Linked DNA regions of Homo sapiens: all the other regions are linked to region 3. The links are contacts of gene promoters, found by promoter capture Hi-C in human tissues and cell types (Jung and others, 2019). All regions are on one chromosome and are shown on one strand. The core of a region is centred on a gene start or on the middle of the fragment in contact, and the rest is flanking DNA. Distances in the headings are between cores, read along the strand shown.

Region 1 (3,538 bases), core at 426-2,925, 430 kb before region 3:
CAGAGCAAGATTCCGTCTCAAAAAAAAGTACATCCTATACCTCGATAAAGTTGAGAAAAAAAATCTCAGAACTCCTATATATGAAATGGGAATATCCATATAAACCCATCATGTGTTTTCTCTTAGGTAAACAAAGATCTAATTTTCTAGTCATAGCAACTAAAAATGCCTAGGAGAAATGACAGCACAGGAGCACTGAATACCTCTAACACCATGTATGGTTTCTACCATTTCCCACGAAAAGGAGCTGGGGCCAGGGCTAGGTGGCTCACTCCTGTAATCCCAGCACTTTGGGAGGCTGAGGCAGGAAGATGGCTTGAGGCCAGGAGTTCAACACTAGCCTGGACAACATGGGGAGGCCCTGTCTCTACATAAAATCTTTAAAAACAAGGAGCCAGGGCTTCTGGAGGAATGGCTGATTCCAAGTCCCAGCAGGTCATGGGGCAGGTAACGCTGGGGTCTTGTGAGACCAGGAAGCAAGGAAGCTTCCAAACCCTAAGGGATGCCTGGTAGCTACAGATGAGACAAGTGAGCATTAAAAAAAAATCCAGTACATATCAAAATCAAAATCTGGGCCAGGTGTGGTGGCTCACGTCTGTAATCCCAGCAATCAGGGAGACCGAGGTAGGAGAACCACTTGAGCACAGAGGCGGAGGTTGCAGTGAGCCGAGATCATGCCATTGCACTCCAGCCTGGCTGACAGTCAGACGATGTTGCAAAAAAAAAAAAAAGTCAAACTCTGTGCTTTCATAATACTAAAACAAATACAGCTCAGGCTTCTGAAAACTGGCCAAGAATCCAGCTCTTGGCAGGGAGTGGTGGCATGCTCTTGTACTCCCAGCTACTACTCAGGAGGCTGAGATGGGAGGATCACTTGAATCCAGGAGTTCAAGACCAGCCTGGCCAACGTAGCGAGACACTGTCTCTACAATAATTAGTAACAATTTTTTTAAAAAAAACCTAGCACTTAACCTGCCTCCCTTGTACAAATGAGTCCCAGGTTATAAAAAGAGGATGAGGAAAAGTTCTGCTTCCGATTCCAGCTGATCAGCTGTGACAGGAGAGAAACAGATAATGATCCCACAGGATCCAAAACCATCAGGTGTAAAACTGATGGGAGCCCAACAAGGGGTAGACAGGAACTCAGTCTACTGCTTGATCTCACATCATCAAGAGAAACCAGCAACACCTACCTCCTGAACAAGAACAAAATGCACCTGTGAAGTCATCGTGCCAAAATCTCAAACCCGAATCTGATCATGCATTCAGGGCACTTCCTGCTATGATGAAACGTTCTCTATCTGCACTGCCTAGTACAGAAGCCATTGGCCTCTGTGGCTATCACACAGCTGAAGTGTGGCAGTGTGGCTGAGGAACTGAGTGTGTAATTTTATTTCATTTTAATTTGTTAATGTAAATAGCCATGTGTGACGAGTGACTATGGTATTGCACAGCACAGCTCTGACACCTTAACCAACACCATGGGGATGTGATCTGCAAAATCCCTACTAGGGAAGAGAATGTCAACTAGAGGACAAACACCCAGAGTTTTCAACAAATAAATCACAAGAACAAAGAAAAGGAGACGGAGTCTACCAACAGATGAATGGATAAAATGGTCTGTGCGCATGGTGGTATATTACTCAGCCAGAGAAAGGAATGAGGTGCTGAAGCATGCTACAATGGAGATAGACCTCAAAAACATGATGTCTCGTCAAAGAAGCCAGACACGAAAAGCCTCATATTGCACGATTCCAATGACATGAAATATCCAGAACAGGCAAATCCACAGACACAAAAAGCAGACTGGGTGTTGCCAGGGACTGGAGGAGAGGGAATGGGGAGTAACTTCTAATGGGTATAGGGTTTCCTTCTGGGTGATGAAAACGTTCTTGAATTATAGTGATGATGGTTGTACAACTCTGTGAAAACGTAAAATCACTACATCAGGCCAGGCATGGTGGCTCACACCTGTGATCCCAGTGCTTTAGGAGGCCAAGGTGGGAGGACTGTTTCAAGTCTGGAGTTTGAGACCAGCAAGGACAACATAGTAAGGCCCCGTCTCTACAAAAAAATTTAAAAATATAGTCAGGTGTGGTGGCATTTGCGTGTGGTTGAAGTTACTCGGGAGGCTGAAGCAGGAGGATCATTTGAGCCCAGGAGTTCAAGGCTGCAGTGAGCTGTGACTGGGCCACTGCACTCCGGTCTGGATGACAGAGGGAGACCATGTCTCCAGAAGAAAAAAAAAAATTACTAAATCAAATGAGTGAATATTATGGTATGTAAATTATAGCTCAATTTCTTAAAGTGCTAATCTGTTTAAAAACAAAAAGAACTGAGCAATGACTTGTGCCTGTAATCTCAGCAACTTGGGAGGCTAAGGCGGGGGGATCACTCAAGCACAGGAGTTTGAGACCAGCCTGCGGCAACACAGTGAGACCATATCTCTTAAAAAAAATGTGTGTGTGTGTGTGTGTGTGTGTGTGTATACACACAAACCCACCTTATAAAATAAAAATAAGCAAGTAAGGCCAGGCATGGTGGCTCATGCCTGTAATACCAGCACTTTGGGAGGCCAAGGCAGGCAGATCACCTGAGGTCAGGAGTTCAAGACCAACATGGCGAAACCCCGTCTCTACTAAATATACAAAAATTAGTGGGGCGCCTGTAATCCCAGCTACTCGGGAGGCTGAGGCAGGAGAATGGCTTGAACCAGGGAGGTGGAGGTTGCAGTGAGACAAGATCACGCCATCGCACTCCAGCCTGGGCAACAAGAGCAAGACTTCGTCTCAAAAAATAAATAAATAAACAAACAAGTAAAACCCAGTATAGGCATACCCTGGAAACCAGGGGTAGGTATCAACACTTAGATGACCCACTAACCTTGGGCAGTACCTTCCACTCTGACAGGTGGGAACAAGACATAGAGTTAAGTAAGATAAAACTCTTGGTAAAAACACCAAATCCCTTTGCAATTCTGTTTCAAACCTGTAGCTCAGCAGTCCCAACCTTTTTAGCCTAAGGGACCAGTTTCGTGGAAGACAATTTTTCCATGGATATGGTGGGGCTAGGGTGGGGATGGTTTCAGGATTGTTCAAGCTCATTACATTTATTGTGCACTTTATTTCTATTATTGTTACATTGTAATATAATAATTATACTATTCACTGTAATGTAGGATCAGTGGGAGCCCTGAGCTTGTTGTCTGGCAACTAGACAGTCCCATCTGGGGGTGATGGGAGATAGTGACAGATCATCAGGCATTAGATTTTCATAAGGAGTGCCCAACCTAAATCGCTTGCATGTGCAGTTCACAGTAGGGTTCGTGCTCCTATAATTTAATGCTGCTGATCTGACAGGAGGTAGAGCTCAGGCATAATGCAAGTGATGGGGAGTTGCTGTAAATACAGATGAAGCTTCACTCGCTCACCCTACGCTTGCCTCCTGCTGTGCAGCCCAGGTCCTAACAGGCCAGGGACCACTGGACCAGTATGGGTCTGTGACCCAGGAATTGGGGACCCCTGCTGTAGATGATCTT
Region 2 (3,514 bases), core at 844-3,343, 390 kb before region 3:
GGTGAGCGTAATCATTGGTAGTCCTCACTCAAAGTATAGTTGGTTAGAATTTGTTGGAGTTCCAAAGGATGCTGCAGCTTGTGATTAAGCTGTGCTAACATTTCAAACTGAGGTATTAATGTGTAAAACACAACAGAGACTTTTCTCTTGGGAGGGCTTTTGAAAACTGTTTTGCCTTTGTCCAAAGCATAGACTAGTGATTCATCTGTGTAATGGATAGTTGAGATCCCTGTAATGGATGCAGTGGGATTTGAGAGATAAACGAGATAATGTCTTGGCCCTTAAGAAGTTCAAGCTAGGCCAGGTGTGGTGGCTCACGCCTGTAATCCCAGCACTTTGGGAGGCAGAGGGCGGGTGGATCACAAGGTCAGGAGATCGAGACCATCCTGGCTAACACGATGAAACCCCGTCTCTACTAAAAATACAAAAAATTAGCCGGGCATGGTGGCAGGCGCCTGTAGTCCCAGCCACTCAGGAGGCTGAGGCAGGAGAATGGCATGAATCTGGGAGGCAGAGCTTGCAGTGAGCCGAGATCGCGCCACTGCACTCCAGCCTGGGCGACAGAGTGAGACTCCGTCTCAAAAAAAAAAAAAAAAGAAGTTCAAGCTAAGGCCGATTGGGTGTCTTACACTTGTGATCCCAGCAGTTTAGGAGGCCAAAGTGGGCAGATCGCTTGAGTCCAAGAGTTTAAGACCAGCCTGGGCAATAGGCAAAACCCTGTCTCTGCAAAAAATACAAAAATTAGTTGGGCATGGTGGTGCATGCCTGTAGTCCCAGCTACTCTGGAGGCTGAGGTGGAAGGATCATTTGGGCCTGAGAGGTCGTGGCTGCAGTGAGCTGATTGCACCACTGCACCCCAGCTTGGGCGACAGACTGAGAGCCTGTCTCAAAAAAAAAAAAAAAGTTCAAGTTATCCAGGTGCACTGATTCACGCCTGTAATCCCAGTGCTTTGGGAGGCCAAGACAGGGGGATCACTTGAGCCCAGGAGTTTGAGGCCAGCCTGGGCAACATAGTGAGACCTATGTCTCCTCCTGGTCTCCTTAAAAAATAAAACATAAAAACTTACAAGCTTAGTAGACTGGAAGGGTGGTGAAGAGAGTTCACTAATCTGCTAGTAAGCAGAGCGTGGTGTGTGCGGTCAGCACCTCCTACGTGCCAGGTCCCGACTGTCCACCTGGAGGCAGCAGCAAGCAGGGCCAACAGTGAAAGAGAAATGGATGAGGCAGTCCTGGGGATGCTGTGGGCAAAGAGAAGCAGGTCAAAGAGAGGGAGAATAAGGTGGGGTCGAGGGGATGCCGCTGAATTGGGAAAGCCAAGGGAGGTCTCTCTTGCAGATGACGTTGGCACAAGCCTGGAGGAGCTGAGGAGAAACAGTGTAGAGATCTGAGAAGGGCACAGCCTCGGTAGAGAGGCTGGGGCAGCAAGAGGCCTTTGTGGCAGCAGAGGAATCCGGGGGGTGGTCACACAGGACCTCAACAGATGTTAACGCTGTGGCCCTTTCTCAGGGAAGGGAGGGTACCTCTGGGACCTGTGGTGGATGTGGCCACTAGGGTGGAGAGCAGCCTGTGGGCGGGAACCAGGAGGAGGCTCAAACTTAAGACAGTTGGACCAGGGCATGAGGAGCAATGAGAAGGGGAGAAGATGGAGTGGGTGACACCTGCTTGTGGGCTGGGTGTGCAAAAGCCAGGAGTCCAGATGACCCCAGGGTTGTCAGCTTGGGCAGAAGAGGGACAGAACTGCCATTCACTGACCTGGAGCCAGGTTATGGAAAGGGGGCAGGTACACTCCAGATGGCCTGGGGGACACAGTGCTGGGGGCAAGCAGGGTCACCTGGGACACATGTGGAGAGACTTCACCAGTCCTTCATGGTCAGGGAGGAGGGCGGGGAGCCAGGCGAGATCGCTCTGCTGGTGTCAGGCAGTGCCATGTTGCTTCCAACCCCTTCCGAGTGACCTAGGTCAGTCTGACCCCAATTATGGCAGGAAGGAGGGACCTTCCCGAGTCCAGAGCTCATAGTCCTTACTGATGTGCCAGGTTTTAGGCTGAGCTGGCATCTGGTGCCCCTTGGTGTGGCCTGGATAAGGGCACGGCCAGATGAGGGCACAGCAGGACCTTGGTGTCAGGCACAGCTGTACTCTAGCTCAGCCCTGCCACCGAGTAGTTTTGTAACCTTGGCGTGTAACCCCTGAGCCACGGATTTGTCTGTAAAATGGGATGGCCACACTTACCCAGCAGGTAGGAGGTACAGTGAGGATTAAACTGAACGCGGTTCCTGGTGGGTGTCCTGCACATGCTGCTGTCTCCTTGGGGCTCTGCACCTGTCCTCCTGTCTGCCAGTGACTGTGGGTGGAAGGGAGGCCGTGGTGGCTGCAGCTTTCCTCTGCAAACCTCCACCTCGCCCACAGGGCTTGGCTTTCCTCCAGCTGTCCAGGAAACCACCATCATGATTGTTAAACACAGATTTGAACATTCACGAAGAAACTTCCAGGCTGAGCCAAACCCTCTTCCTCCCACTGCACCTCCAAGCAGCCTTCCTGAAAGGGAAAAGAGTACAGACCTGCCCTCTGGGGACCCCTGTGCCCTGCCATGACCAGCCTTTCCCCTTCCTTCCCTACCCGTCATCCCAGGGCCCAGGTCGTGCACAGCTCCCAGAAGGGCCTGACGGATGCCCCGTTTCTCATCTCAGCCGGTGGGTTCTGTCACCTCTTTTCTCCAGGCCACTTTCTCATGGCAAGGGGCCCCCCAGTGTAGCAGGTCCTGTCTGGTGTCCCCTGGTTTGCAGGGGTGTCTCTTCACTGTTTGTGCCCCTCTTCCTGTCCCAGCCCATAGCATAGCTCCTCCCTTCATACCTCCCCTCCTTAACTGCCCTGCAGAGACACTTCTGCCCACACCGCCTCACCAAGACCACCTCATGCCATTATGGAGGGGCCGCCTGCATCCAGTAACTCACGCACACACACAAGATACACACATGTGCACGCATATGCACACACACATGCATACACACACGCACACACACATGCATACACACACACAGCTACTTTATATAATACCCTCGGAGATGCCTCTGAAGAGAACAAAGGGAATTTCCCTCCGCCTTTGAAGGTCCAAGTCTAAGCCTGTTGAAATGAACTGACAATAAGAAGATTAACAGGATAAAAAAAGGTGTGCGGTGGCTTACACCTGTAATCCCGGGACTTTGGAAGGCCAAGGCAGGGGGATCACTTGAGCCCGGGAGTTCAAGACTGCAGTGAGCCATGATGGAGCCACTGCACTCCAGCCTGGGTGACAGAGCAAGATCCTGTCTTGAAACAAAAAAGTTATACATATTTATTCACGTGCATAAGCACAGGAGCCATATAAAACATTATGAAAACTCAAAGAAGGGCCAGGTGGTTGAAGCTGAAATACCTCTTTGTAGGGGAGAGGGCAGATGGGAGGCTGTAGGTAACTTTAGAGGGGAAGCAGATGATTTTAGGAGAGATGAATGGAGGCAGGCATCATCTTGTGAAT
Region 3 (3,369 bases), core at 616-3,115:
TCTATCCACACAGAGAGCATCTGCAGACAGGAGCCATGGGGGAGTAGTGGTGAGTATCCTAAAAACTCAATTCCAGCCAAGGACTGCCACCTCCACTTAACCCTCTGGGTCCCCTGGCAGGTGGGACTATGGCTCCATGTTTCAGAGGGGACAAGCAGGGCTGGGGGTCACCTCTGCTCCAGGATATCCTCCAGTGCTGTGCTAAGGGCTTGGATTGTAGAGACTTCTGCTGCCCTGCGTCTTCCCACAGAAGCTCCTAGACTGGGTGGTGCCCACTGTGCAGAGGAAGAAACTGAGGCACAAAAGGCCTGGTTTCCCGAAGTAAATGGCAGCGTCTCTCCTTGTCTGTCTTCTCCATCCAGAATTCAGATGGAGCAGGGGCGCCCTGGGCCCCTATAGGCTCCCATCCCCCAATCTTGTTTTTTGACAGTCTGGAGTCTGAACTGGAGATTTAAGTAGGAGAGGGTGGGGCTTCAGTCTTGGGCAGACAAATGGGGGCTCCTGAGCCCCCCTCAGACACTTTTACCCCCTTGGCTGGTTGGGGACCAGGAGAGAGAATCCAGGCCTCTAAGGGACTCCTGGAAAAGGGGACTTGGAGCCGTTCCCTTCCCTGGGCGCTGCAGCTGGGGGCGGGGCTGCGACCAAAAGTGGGTAATTGCACCCCCCAACTCTCATTTCAGGCACCCCCATCCGCAGCAGCCTTGGAGGCCAGGAACCCTTTATTCCTGGGCGCCCGCATCGGGTGGGGACCGGGAGGAGGGAGATGAGACGCCCGGACCGGGAGGGGTCCCGAAACTCGAGCAATGGCCAAAAATAATAACACGGAGAAGGCTCTTTGCGCAAAAGAAGGAAGACAAACTATGCGTCGCTCCGGGCAGCCGGCGTTACCTGGAGTCGGCGGGCGGTGGCCGCCGAAGCGATTACTCACCGCGTGGCGCACCCCACCCGCGGGCCGCTGAGTGGATTTTTCCGTGGCGGGGTGTGAATAGGTCCCGGGGAAAGAGCTTCTTACCGCTCTCCTCCTGGGAATCCCTCTTACTGCGGTGCGGGACCCAGTTCCCGCGCAGGCCTGGGTCCCGGCTCCCACAGGGGACTACATCTCCCCGTCTGCCCACGCAGGAGCTCCCTCCCGAGGCCCCCGGGGCGCCCAGAGCAACCTCAAACCCATCCCGCGCGCGAAGGGGACAGCGCAGCCAGGGCGAAGGCGAGGGACTCCGTGCCTTCCTGCTTTTTCTCCTTTCTTCCAGCAAAGCCTGGGGCCGAGGCTACTCGCGGAGAATCGAAAAGAGGCAGGATGAGGTGGGAGGGCTGGAACCCGCGCGCCGAGGGCGTGGGGCTGGGGGTGACTTTTAGGCCCCTGGGAAGGCTGAGGGGCTGGAGATGGGGGTAGGCGGGACTCAAGGACCGCTCGGTGGGGGGGGCGGGGCCAGAGCTGGGGTGGGGGCCGAGACAGAAGATTGGGCCGTGGAAGGGGGAATGGAGGAGTGGGGCAGGGTTGGGGACCAAAGGGGCCACTGAAGAGGCACTGGGCTGAGAGGAGGGTGCAGGGAAGTGGGCAGGGTTATGGAAACGGGATTGGGGGTGCCGGGTCCCAGACTGGGGGTGGGAAGCCTGGAGCTGGCAGGGTTGGAGAGGGAGGTCCTGGGCCGGTAGGGGTTGAGTTAGGGGGCTTTGGGCCGCGGGATAGGGCGCGCGCGGTTCTCGGTGGGGCGGAGGCGGGACGGGCGGGGCGCGCGGTGCCCGCGGGCGGGCGGGCGGCGGGGAGGCCGGTGCGGGGCCCGCCGCCCCCCCGGGGCCGGGCCGGGCCGGGGGCGGGGCCGGGCGGGGCCAGCGGCGCATTAGCGCCTTGTCAATTCGGCTGCTCAGACTTGCTCCGGCCTCCGCGTCCGCGCCCAGCGACGTGCGGGCGGCCTGGCCCGCGCCCTCCCGCGCCCGGCCTGCGTCCCGCGCCCTGCGCCACCGCCGCCGAGCCGCAGCCCGCCGCGCGCCCCCGGCAGCGCCGGCCCCATGCCCGCCGGCCGCCGGGGCCCCGCCGCCCAATCCGCGCGGCGGCCGCCGCCGTTGCTGCCCCTGCTGCTGCTGCTCTGCGTCCTCGGGGCGCCGCGAGCCGGATCAGGAGCCCGTGAGTACCCGGCGCCCCACTCCTTCCCCCCTGCCAGAGCAGAGGGCGGGCGCCCCGGGGGCAGCCGCGGGGGGAGGGGGCGCGGGCGCCACCTGGACGGCCGGGGAACAAAGGAAGGCGCCCCCGGCGCAGCCCTCGGGGCGCCCTCACCTGCGGGGCACACGGCGCCGCAGTCCACTGTCCAGAGAGTCCTGCTTCCGCGCCCGAGGCCCTGTTACCTGGGCAGCTGGGCCGAGGGCGCCAGGCCAGGCCCCCGGGGGCTGGGGGGATCGCGGCCTGAGACCCTCTGCATGCCAGGACGTGGCGGGCGCACGCGTCTGCTTCGGTGGACTCTGGGCCCCTGGGACTGCAGGGCACCGCTCCCAGGCGGGGGCGCACGCGGTTGGCGCGCTGGGTGCGGGCCCCCAGCGGGCCCCCCCAGGCGGAGGGATGAGCCCCACGGGGAGGGCGGGGCTGCAGGGGGGCCGCTCTGGCCGCCTGGCGCGCAGCCCGGGGTCCCGGGGGACTTGTGTCTCCACGGGCCGGCGCCACCGCCCTCCCCCTGCGGGACCCGGCGCACGGGGGTCCGCGGAGTCCCCGCCACCGGCGGCGCTTAGAACCGTTTTCAGCCAGGCTGCGTCGGGCGGAGAGCCTCCAGCGAGAGGAATCTTTGTGAGCGAGTGGGTGAGAGGGAGAGGGAGCGGGAGCCAGTGAGTCCGGGCACCAGCGGGCCCAAACTTTGAGGGGGCCCACTGGGAACCCGCTGCCCTACGGGCCAAGACCCCTGCCCTGGAGGGACTTCTGGCCTCAGGCACTCTGGGGCCCCCCATCCAAGGAACACCCCCGCAAGGATACGTCTCCGTATGCAGACCCGCTCTGGGACACACCCAGAGACACACAAAGAATCACACTGGCTTGTGGCCCGTCACCCTCGCCCTCAAACTCGCGCACACTGCATCCCAGGTGCACATTCGCGCACCATCGCGGACGCACACACATTCCATCCCCGACACACACATTCACGGTCACACACATCCCACAGGGGAGGCGACCCAGGGGCACAGAGGCAGGCACCACTCGCCCCAGATGTTCAGTCACTCCACGCACCCCATCCAGGCGCACGGGCCACCCCGGGGGTCGCCGGGCACACACTGCTCCCAGGCTCATCCACCCTGTGCTGGGCTGTTTGCGGGCTGCCTGTAGGGCTCCTCCGGGAAGGGGCAGGGTCCGGGCATCTTCTAGGGGCACTTGCTGAAAGCCTGGCTCTC

What was found. Contacts are between HindIII fragments. The study calls those that stand out against the background at their distance.
Region 1: a fragment that was not itself captured here is called in contact with the fragment with the promoter of CRLF1 in region 3 in 2 of the 25 tissues and cell types used here (lymphoblastoid cells and spleen).
Region 2: a fragment that was not itself captured here is called in contact with the fragment with the promoter of CRLF1 in region 3 in 1 of the 25 tissues and cell types used here (lymphoblastoid cells).

What each region holds. Positions count from the first base shown.
Region 1 is chr19:19,037,848-19,041,385 of GRCh38, reverse strand. The region is part of intron 2 of ARMC6 (armadillo repeat containing 6); the gene reads right to left. Among named protein-coding and RNA genes, the nearest start is that of ARMC6, 6.0 kb to the right of the region's middle. The HindIII fragment of the contact is 5,677 bases long and covers 1-3,538 here.
Region 2 is chr19:18,998,100-19,001,613 of GRCh38, reverse strand. It overlaps SUGP2 (SURP and G-patch domain containing 2), which reads left to right. Exons shown (of 11, transcript NM_001017392.5): 8 at 1. Among named protein-coding and RNA genes, the nearest start is that of SUGP2, 34 kb to the left of the region's middle. The HindIII fragment of the contact is 7,801 bases long and covers 1-3,514 here.
Region 3 is chr19:18,605,295-18,608,663 of GRCh38, reverse strand. CRLF1 (cytokine receptor like factor 1) reads left to right here and starts at 1,865. Exons shown (of 9, transcript NM_004750.5): 1 at 1,865-2,122. The coding sequence starts at 2,008. RefSeq lists an enhancer at 1,825-2,743. The HindIII fragment of the contact is 9,492 bases long and covers 1-3,369 here.